Regions from separate parts of the Homo sapiens genome. Here all the other regions are linked to region 1. The links are contacts of gene promoters, found by promoter capture Hi-C in blood cells and fetal thymus (Javierre and others, 2016). All regions are on one chromosome and are shown on one strand. The core of a region is centred on a gene start or on the middle of the fragment in contact, and the rest is flanking DNA. Distances in the headings are between cores, read along the strand shown. Region 1 holds the start of APOE (apolipoprotein E). Region 2 holds the start of NKPD1 (NTPase KAP family P-loop domain containing 1). Region 3 overlaps PVR (PVR cell adhesion molecule).

The links. The method cuts DNA at HindIII sites, captures the fragments that hold promoters and counts their contacts. A CHiCAGO score of 5 or more calls a contact.
Region 2: a contact is called between the fragment with the promoter of NKPD1 here and the fragment with the promoter of APOE in region 1, in 2 of 17 cell types (naive B cells and total B cells). The highest score is 7.7, in naive B cells.
Region 3: a contact is called between a fragment that was not itself captured here and the fragment with the promoter of APOE in region 1, in 1 of 17 cell types (naive B cells). The highest score is 5.6, in naive B cells.

Annotation. Positions count from the first base shown.
Region 1 is chr19:44,904,340-44,907,185 of GRCh38, forward strand. It overlaps APOE (apolipoprotein E), which reads left to right and starts at 1,457. Exons shown (of 4, transcript NM_000041.4): 1 at 1,457-1,502; 2 at 2,263-2,328. The coding sequence starts at 2,286. RefSeq lists enhancers at 774-1,576, 2,379-2,846. The HindIII fragment of the contact is 10,718 bases long and covers 1-2,846 here.
Region 2 is chr19:45,159,475-45,162,320 of GRCh38, forward strand. It overlaps NKPD1 (NTPase KAP family P-loop domain containing 1), which reads right to left and starts at 1,508. Exons shown (of 5, transcript NM_198478.4): 1 at 1,451-1,508; 2 at 586-747. The coding sequence starts at 676. RefSeq lists an enhancer at 1,158-1,790. The HindIII fragment of the contact is 37,147 bases long and covers 1-2,846 here.
Region 3 is chr19:44,662,193-44,665,038 of GRCh38, forward strand. PVR (PVR cell adhesion molecule) reads left to right here. Exons shown (of 8, transcript NM_006505.5): 8 at 1-2,846. Among named protein-coding and RNA genes, the nearest start is that of CEACAM19, 7.9 kb to the right of the region's middle. The HindIII fragment of the contact is 240 bases long and covers 1,131-1,370 here.

The DNA of each region.
Region 1 (2,846 bases), core at 207-2,706:
CCAGGTTACCAACCCCACCTCAGCCACCCCTTGCCAGCCAAAGCAAACAGGCCCGGCCCGGCACTGGGGGTTCCTTCTCGAACCAGGAGTTCAGCCTCCCCTGACCCGCAGAATCTTCTGATCCCACCCGCTCCAGGAGCCAGGAATGAGTCCCAGTCTCTCCCAGTTCTCACTGTGTGGTTTTGCCATTCGTCTTGCTGCTGAACCACGGGTTTCTCCTCTGAAACATCTGGGATTTATAACAGGGCTTAGGAAAGTGACAGCGTCTGAGCGTTCACTGTGGCCTGTCCATTGCTAGCCCTAACATAGGACCGCTGTGTGCCAGGGCTGTCCTCCATGCTCAATACACGTTAGCTTGTCACCAAACATACCCGTGCCGCTGCTTTCCCAGTCTGATGAGCAAAGGAACTTGATGCTCAGAGAGGACAAGTCATTTGCCCAAGGTCACACAGCTGGCAACTGGCAGAGCCAGGATTCACGCCCTGGCAATTTGACTCCAGAATCCTAACCTTAACCCAGAAGCACGGCTTCAAGCCCCTGGAAACCACAATACCTGTGGCAGCCAGGGGGAGGTGCTGGAATCTCATTTCACATGTGGGGAGGGGGCTCCCCTGTGCTCAAGGTCACAACCAAAGAGGAAGCTGTGATTAAAACCCAGGTCCCATTTGCAAAGCCTCGACTTTTAGCAGGTGCATCATACTGTTCCCACCCCTCCCATCCCACTTCTGTCCAGCCGCCTAGCCCCACTTTCTTTTTTTTCTTTTTTTGAGACAGTCTCCCTCTTGCTGAGGCTGGAGTGCAGTGGCGAGATCTCGGCTCACTGTAACCTCCGCCTCCCGGGTTCAAGCGATTCTCCTGCCTCAGCCTCCCAAGTAGCTAGGATTACAGGCGCCCGCCACCACGCCTGGCTAACTTTTGTATTTTTAGTAGAGATGGGGTTTCACCATGTTGGCCAGGCTGGTCTCAAACTCCTGACCTTAAGTGATTCGCCCACTGTGGCCTCCCAAAGTGCTGGGATTACAGGCGTGAGCTACCGCCCCCAGCCCCTCCCATCCCACTTCTGTCCAGCCCCCTAGCCCTACTTTCTTTCTGGGATCCAGGAGTCCAGATCCCCAGCCCCCTCTCCAGATTACATTCATCCAGGCACAGGAAAGGACAGGGTCAGGAAAGGAGGACTCTGGGCGGCAGCCTCCACATTCCCCTTCCACGCTTGGCCCCCAGAATGGAGGAGGGTGTCTGTATTACTGGGCGAGGTGTCCTCCCTTCCTGGGGACTGTGGGGGGTGGTCAAAAGACCTCTATGCCCCACCTCCTTCCTCCCTCTGCCCTGCTGTGCCTGGGGCAGGGGGAGAACAGCCCACCTCGTGACTGGGGGCTGGCCCAGCCCGCCCTATCCCTGGGGGAGGGGGCGGGACAGGGGGAGCCCTATAATTGGACAAGTCTGGGATCCTTGAGTCCTACTCAGCCCCAGCGGAGGTGAAGGACGTCCTTCCCCAGGAGCCGGTGAGAAGCGCAGTCGGGGGCACGGGGATGAGCTCAGGGGCCTCTAGAAAGAGCTGGGACCCTGGGAACCCCTGGCCTCCAGGTAGTCTCAGGAGAGCTACTCGGGGTCGGGCTTGGGGAGAGGAGGAGCGGGGGTGAGGCAAGCAGCAGGGGACTGGACCTGGGAAGGGCTGGGCAGCAGAGACGACCCGACCCGCTAGAAGGTGGGGTGGGGAGAGCAGCTGGACTGGGATGTAAGCCATAGCAGGACTCCACGAGTTGTCACTATCATTTATCGAGCACCTACTGGGTGTCCCCAGTGTCCTCAGATCTCCATAACTGGGGAGCCAGGGGCAGCGACACGGTAGCTAGCCGTCGATTGGAGAACTTTAAAATGAGGACTGAATTAGCTCATAAATGGAACACGGCGCTTAACTGTGAGGTTGGAGCTTAGAATGTGAAGGGAGAATGAGGAATGCGAGACTGGGACTGAGATGGAACCGGCGGTGGGGAGGGGGTGGGGGGATGGAATTTGAACCCCGGGAGAGGAAGATGGAATTTTCTATGGAGGCCGACCTGGGGATGGGGAGATAAGAGAAGACCAGGAGGGAGTTAAATAGGGAATGGGTTGGGGGCGGCTTGGTAAATGTGCTGGGATTAGGCTGTTGCAGATAATGCAACAAGGCTTGGAAGGCTAACCTGGGGTGAGGCCGGGTTGGGGCCGGGCTGGGGGTGGGAGGAGTCCTCACTGGCGGTTGATTGACAGTTTCTCCTTCCCCAGACTGGCCAATCACAGGCAGGAAGATGAAGGTTCTGTGGGCTGCGTTGCTGGTCACATTCCTGGCAGGTATGGGGGCGGGGCTTGCTCGGTTCCCCCCGCTCCTCCCCCTCTCATCCTCACCTCAACCTCCTGGCCCCATTCAGGCAGACCCTGGGCCCCCTCTTCTGAGGCTTCTGTGCTGCTTCCTGGCTCTGAACAGCGATTTGACGCTCTCTGGGCCTCGGTTTCCCCCATCCTTGAGATAGGAGTTAGAAGTTGTTTTGTTGTTGTTGTTTGTTGTTGTTGTTTTGTTTTTTTGAGATGAAGTCTCGCTCTGTCGCCCAGGCTGGAGTGCAGTGGCGGGATCTCGGCTCACTGCAAGCTCCGCCTCCCAGGTCCACGCCATTCTCCTGCCTCAGCCTCCCAAGTAGCTGGGACTACAGGCACATGCCACCACACCCGACTAACTTTTTTGTATTTTCAGTAGAGACGGGGTTTCACCATGTTGGCCAGGCTGGTCTGGAACTCCTGACCTCAGGTGATCTGCCCGTTTCGATCTCCCAAAGTGCTGGGATTACAGGCGTGAGCCACCGCACCTGGCTGGG
Region 2 (2,846 bases), core at 258-2,757, 260 kb after region 1:
GCCCAGGGAGGCCGGAGTGATGGGTGGTGGCGTGGAGAGGGGTAGGCCAGGGATTTGGGTGGGGGGTGGACCTTGTCCCCAGCTCGGGCCAGGGTGGCAGGAAGGGTGGTGACCTGGGAAGCTCCAGCCCTCGCCCTAGCCCTGAGGAGGCTGAATCAGCCCCAGTGGGAGGGCACTGCCCCCTCCCCACCCTGAACAAGATCACCTGTGGTCACCACCAGAAACTGGGCCCAGCCTCATCCAGACATGTTCAGTGGGGGGGCTCCCTCTCCTACCCCTCACTCCCAGCACACTGCTCCCCTCCAGGCTGGAGGCCATCCACACAGGCCTCAGGGTTTGGAAACGGGGCAGGGCAGGCCAGGCGGCCCCTGCTTCCAACTCCAGCCCAGGCTCCTATCTTTGGGCCCGCAGGCCCTGTGGTCCGGGTCCTGGGTCCCAGGCCCTGCTGCTACACAGATGCCTCTGGGTGGAGTGCAAGTGGCTTTTCTCTCCTGGGGATGACAGCTCCCCTTCTGTTCCTCCATTCACTCTGGCTTCCTCACAGGCCTCTGTCGGCCATCACCCGCCCCCAAACTGAACCCGTACCTTTTCGGTGCCCCAACTCTGGGTCCCAGAAGTAGTGCCCGTTGGGGCTCTGGGCATCCTTGGCGAAGTGGACTTTGTAATGTTTGTGCATGGCAGCCGGGCAGCTGGGTGCTGGGGGCCTGCTCCTGAGGCAGGAGGGAGCACACAGGCTTGGCGTAGCCTCTGGGGCACGAACAGCAGAGAGCTGAGGTCAGGGTCCCTGCCCTGCCCGACAGCTTGGACAGGGGAAAGGCCAAGTCCCAGATGCTGGGTTCCTAGGTCACTTGGGAGAAGGGGGTAGAGGTGGCCTTCAGGGTACAGTGAGGGGCAGGATAAGGAGGGATGGCCAGAGGAGGGAACGGAGAACCGCTGGGGTTGGCTAGGGGTTAATTTGAGGCTGGGTGTTGGGAAGCTCCTGGGAGTTTCCAAGAGGCTAGGACACTGGGGAGTGCTGAGCAGACATGGGCTGGGGAAATAGGGGGTCCGGTGTGGTGGCTGAGTGACCAAGGGGTCATTAAGGTGTGGGCGCTGTGGGAGGCTGGCACGCTTTGGAAGGACATGGAGCTAGTGAGGTGAGCTGGAGAGCAGATGAGAAGCAGGGTGAGTGAAAATCAGAGCTGGGTACCTGTGGGCATTGAATGATACGGTGGAGGGGGAATTGTGAGGGAGCAATGAAATCGCGGTGGTCCAATTTGGGGAGAGGCTCAGCAAACTCGGGCAAGATGGGTGTACCGCGTTTCCAATGTGAAGAGCCGAAAGCAGGACAGGGAAGGATGCTGTGTGGGGGACAGGGATAGGGAAAGGCTGAGGGGCAGAGGAAACTGGGGTGCTGAGAGTTGGTAGCCTGCCCACCACTCCCCACCCCCAGTCCCAGTCCCACTCGTACCTGACGGTGGCCTCACGGCCCCAGCTGCCTGCCCCACGAGCAGCTGCCACACCAGCCCGGACTGTCAGCGCAGGCCCATCCAGATGGAGGCCTCAGCCCAGTGCCCGCCTGACCGGTTTGCCTGCCTGTCCCCGCCCCTTCCCCAGCGCCTGCCTGTCCCAGTGCTCTCTGCTCTCGAGGACTGGGACTCCGACTGGACTCAGTCTTGTGTCCCCATCCCTGGTAAGGAACGGAGATGCATCCCGCAGCACTGCCTCAATCTCCTTAAGGCAGCCACAGGCCCAGGCACTTCTGCTGGTGTGGGGGGGACAGGGAGCTGGGATGCCAGCTCCTCCGTGGCCCAGGTATGTGACCTTGGGCAGGTGACTTCACTCTCCGAGCCATGGCTTCCTCATTGCTGAGTGGGCACCTGCCTCTCGTGGCTGTCGCGAGGGAGGCACTGGGTGGGAGTCCCCTCAGCTCAGGGCCTGGCGCACCTGACCCGGGGCTGTGCTGACCCATTTACCTGGCGCTGTTCTAAATGGATGTCCATAGGACAAGGGCAACAGCACACACATCAAGGCTTGCTACACCATAGCCCCGTCTTCCTCTCCACCACCCAGGGGGCCAGGTGTGATGCCCGCTTCACAGATGAGGACACTGAGGCCCAGAGAAGTGAAGTCCTCGGCCCCAGGGCACACAGAGGCAGGGCGGGGATTTGGAAGCAGTCAGTGGTTGCTACTCCCAGGCTCGCCAAGGCTCTGTCTCCTGCCCTCGGGGCCAGCACTCAGTGACTGCCTCCCCACAGATGCCCTCTGAGGGGTGAGGGCCGGGGTAAGGCTGGGCAGGAGATGCCCTGAAGGCCCCTCGGCTCTCTGGGGCCCCGGCTCCCTGTGGCTGCTGGCGTAACGGGGTCAACAGTTGCTTCCCTGACAGACGGGGTGCTCCGATGGGGATGGGGGAGGCAGCCCCAGAACAGTGCCCAGGACAAGATAAAGGGAACCCACCCAGCCCTGAGTTCTGCCCAGGTGACCAAACACTGCTCCCTACGGCCAGAGCCAGGGCCCTTCCTGCGACCTGGGACCCCGTCTCCTCCCCCACCCTTCAAGCCGGTTGCTCTGGGAAGGTTCCTCCCTGGCCCACCAGGGAGGCGGGGCTGGCATCTGAGCGTGGGCATCTGCAGTGGGCCTCCGTGCCAACCCCCCACACCCCCGGCCCGATCATGAAGCGTGGCCCAATGTAAATGAGCCGTCTCCGCAGGACGAGATTGCCCCGGGCTGGGAGCACAGTGGCCAGGAGGCTGCTGGACACTAGGGGGAGCAGGCGTTTGGGGAGTGGGCCAGGCGGGCAGCACTGCAGAGGCAGACACAGGACACAGCTACACTCAGCCAGGTGGAATAGGAAGGGGTGACCCAGG
Region 3 (2,846 bases), core at 1-2,500, 240 kb before region 1:
CAACATGCAAGAAGTACTGCCAATACTGCCAACCAGAGCAGCTCACTCGAGATCTTTGTGTCCAGAGTTTTTTGTTTGTCTTGAGACAGGGTCTGGCTCTGTTGGCAGACTAGAGTACAGTGGTGAGATCACAGTTCATTGCAGCCTTGACTTCTCAACGCCAAGTCATCCTCCCACCTCAGCCTCCTGAGTAGCTATGACTACAGGTATGTGCCACCACGTCTGGCTAATCTTTTTATTATTTGTAAAGTCGAGGTTTCCCTGTGTTGCCCAGGCTGGTCTTGAACTCTTGGCTCCAAGTGATACTTCTGCCTTGGCCTCCCAAAGTGCTGAATTAAGCAGCTCACCATCCACACGGCTGACCTCATACATCAAGCCAATACCGTGTGGCCCAAGACCCCCACCATAAATCACATCATTAGCATGAACCACCCAGAGTGGCCCAAGACTCCAAGATCAGCTACCAGGCAGGATATTCCAAGGGCTTAGAGATGAATGCCCAGGAGCTGAGGATAAAGGGCCCGATCTTTCTTTGGGCAAGGTTAAGCCTTTACTGCATAGCAGACCACACAGAAGGGTGTGGGCCACCAGAGAATTTTGGTAAAAATTTGGCCTCTGGCCTTGAGCTTCTAAATCTCTGTATCCGTCAGATCTCTGTGGTTACAAGAAACAGCCACTGACCCTGGTCACCAGAGGCTGCAATTCAGGCCGCAAGCAGCTGCCTGGGGGGTGTCCAAGGAGCAGAGAAAACTACTAGATGTGAACTTGAAGAAGGTTGTCAGCTGCAGCCACTTTCTGCCAGCATCTGCAGCCACTTTCTGCCAGCATCTGCAGCCAGCAAGCTGGGACTGGCAGGAAATAACCCACAAAAGAAGCAAATGCAATTTCCAACACAAGGGGGAAGGGATGCAGGGGGAGGCAGCGCTGCAGTTGCTCAGGACACGCTCCTATAGGACCAAGATGGATGCGACCCAAGACCCAGGAGGCCCAGCTGCTCAGTGCAACTGACAAGTTAAAAAGGTCTATGATCTTGAGGGCAGACAGCAGAATTCCTCTTATAAAGAAAACTGTTTGGGAAAATACGTTGAGGGAGAGAAGACCTTGGGCCAAGATGCTAAATGGGAATGCAAAGCTTGAGCTGCTCTGCAAGAGAAAATAAGCAGGACAGAGGATTTGCTCTGGACAGAGATGGAAGAGCCGGGAACAGAGAAGTGTGGGGAAGAGATAGGAACCAGCAGGATGGCAGGGGCAAAGGGCTCAAGGGTGAGGAGGCCAGTGGGACCCCACAGAGTTGGGGAGATAAAGGAACATTGGTTGCTTTGGTGGCACGTAAGCTCCTTGTCTGTCTCCAGCACCCAGAATCTCATTAAAGCTTATTTATTGTACCTCCAGCGGCTGTGTGCAATGGGGTCTTTTGTGGAAATCAAGGAGCAGACAGGTTTCATGTGTACTGTCACCACGTGGGATGGAACCAGAGGCATGGAAGCAAGACGCTAAATGAAGAGGGCCATAAGGGCTGGGATTCCCAGGCACCTTAGGAACAGCTTGTCTTTTTTTTTTTCCTCTCCAAAAAAAATGTTTAAGGGACGGTGTCTCCTGTCACCCAGGCTGGAGTGCAATGGCACGATCATAGCTCATTGCAGCCTCTAACTCCGGGGCTCAAGCAATCCTCCCACCTCAGCCTACCAAGTAGCTGTGACCACAGCTGCCCCTCACCATGCTAAGCTAATTTTTTTAATTAGATAGTACATAAACGTCCCAAAATTAGAAGATAAAAAGACATGAGGGATCCATTCTAATTTGTGTTTGGAGTGTAATGGTCCAGCTCCATTCTTCTGCACATGGATATCCAGTTTTACACAACACTGTGAATGTAATGAATGCCACTGAATCATACACTCAAAAATAGCTAAAATGGCAAATTGTCTGTTATCTCTTTTTAACCACCATTTTTGAAAATTAATTATACCAAAAAACCATTGAATAGTGCACTTTATTTATTTATTTATTTGTTTATTTATTTATTTATTTTAGAAATAAGAGTCTCACTTTGTTGCCCAGGCTGGAGTGCAGTGGCGTGATCATGGCTCATTGCAGCCTCGACCTGCTGGGCTCGGGCTATCCTTCCATCTCAGCCTCCCGAGTAGCTGGGACTATAGGTGGGCGCCACCCCACCTGGCTAAATCTCTTTTTAACTTTTGTAGAGATAGGCATCTCGCTATGTTGCCTAGGCTGGGCTGGAACTCCTGGGCTCAAGTGCTCCTCCTGCCTTGGCCTCCCAAAGCGCTAGGATTACAGATGTGAGCCACCGCGCCCACCCTGAACCTTACTTTTTTTGCTCAGTTTCTGGTAATTCAGAGAATGCCTCCTGAGTTGTTCTACACCCACCTCATATTCCATGGGAGGGCTGTACAGGGCTTTTTTAACGAGGCCTCTAAGGACAGGCATTTGTATCCTTTCCAGCCTTTCACTATTACAATGTTGTAGTGAATAACTTTACACACTGTCATTTATTTTACTTTTTTTTTTTTTTATTTTAGAGAAAGGAATCTTGCCATCTTGCCCAGGCTGGTCTCAAATTCCTGGGCCCAAACAATCCTCCCGCCTTGGCCTCCTAAAGTACTGGGATTTATAGGCATAAGCCACCGTGCCTGGCCAATGCACACTGTCATTTAGCTCATGTTAACACCTGAGTGTAGGACACACTCCTGGAGGTGGAATTGCTGGGCCAAAGAGTATGTTTCTTGTCATTGTGATAGATATTGACAAATGAACCCTCACAGAAGTTGTGCTGAGTTCTGTTCCCACCAGCGACGTAGGCGATGACCTTTTTCTGGAGGGAGGGG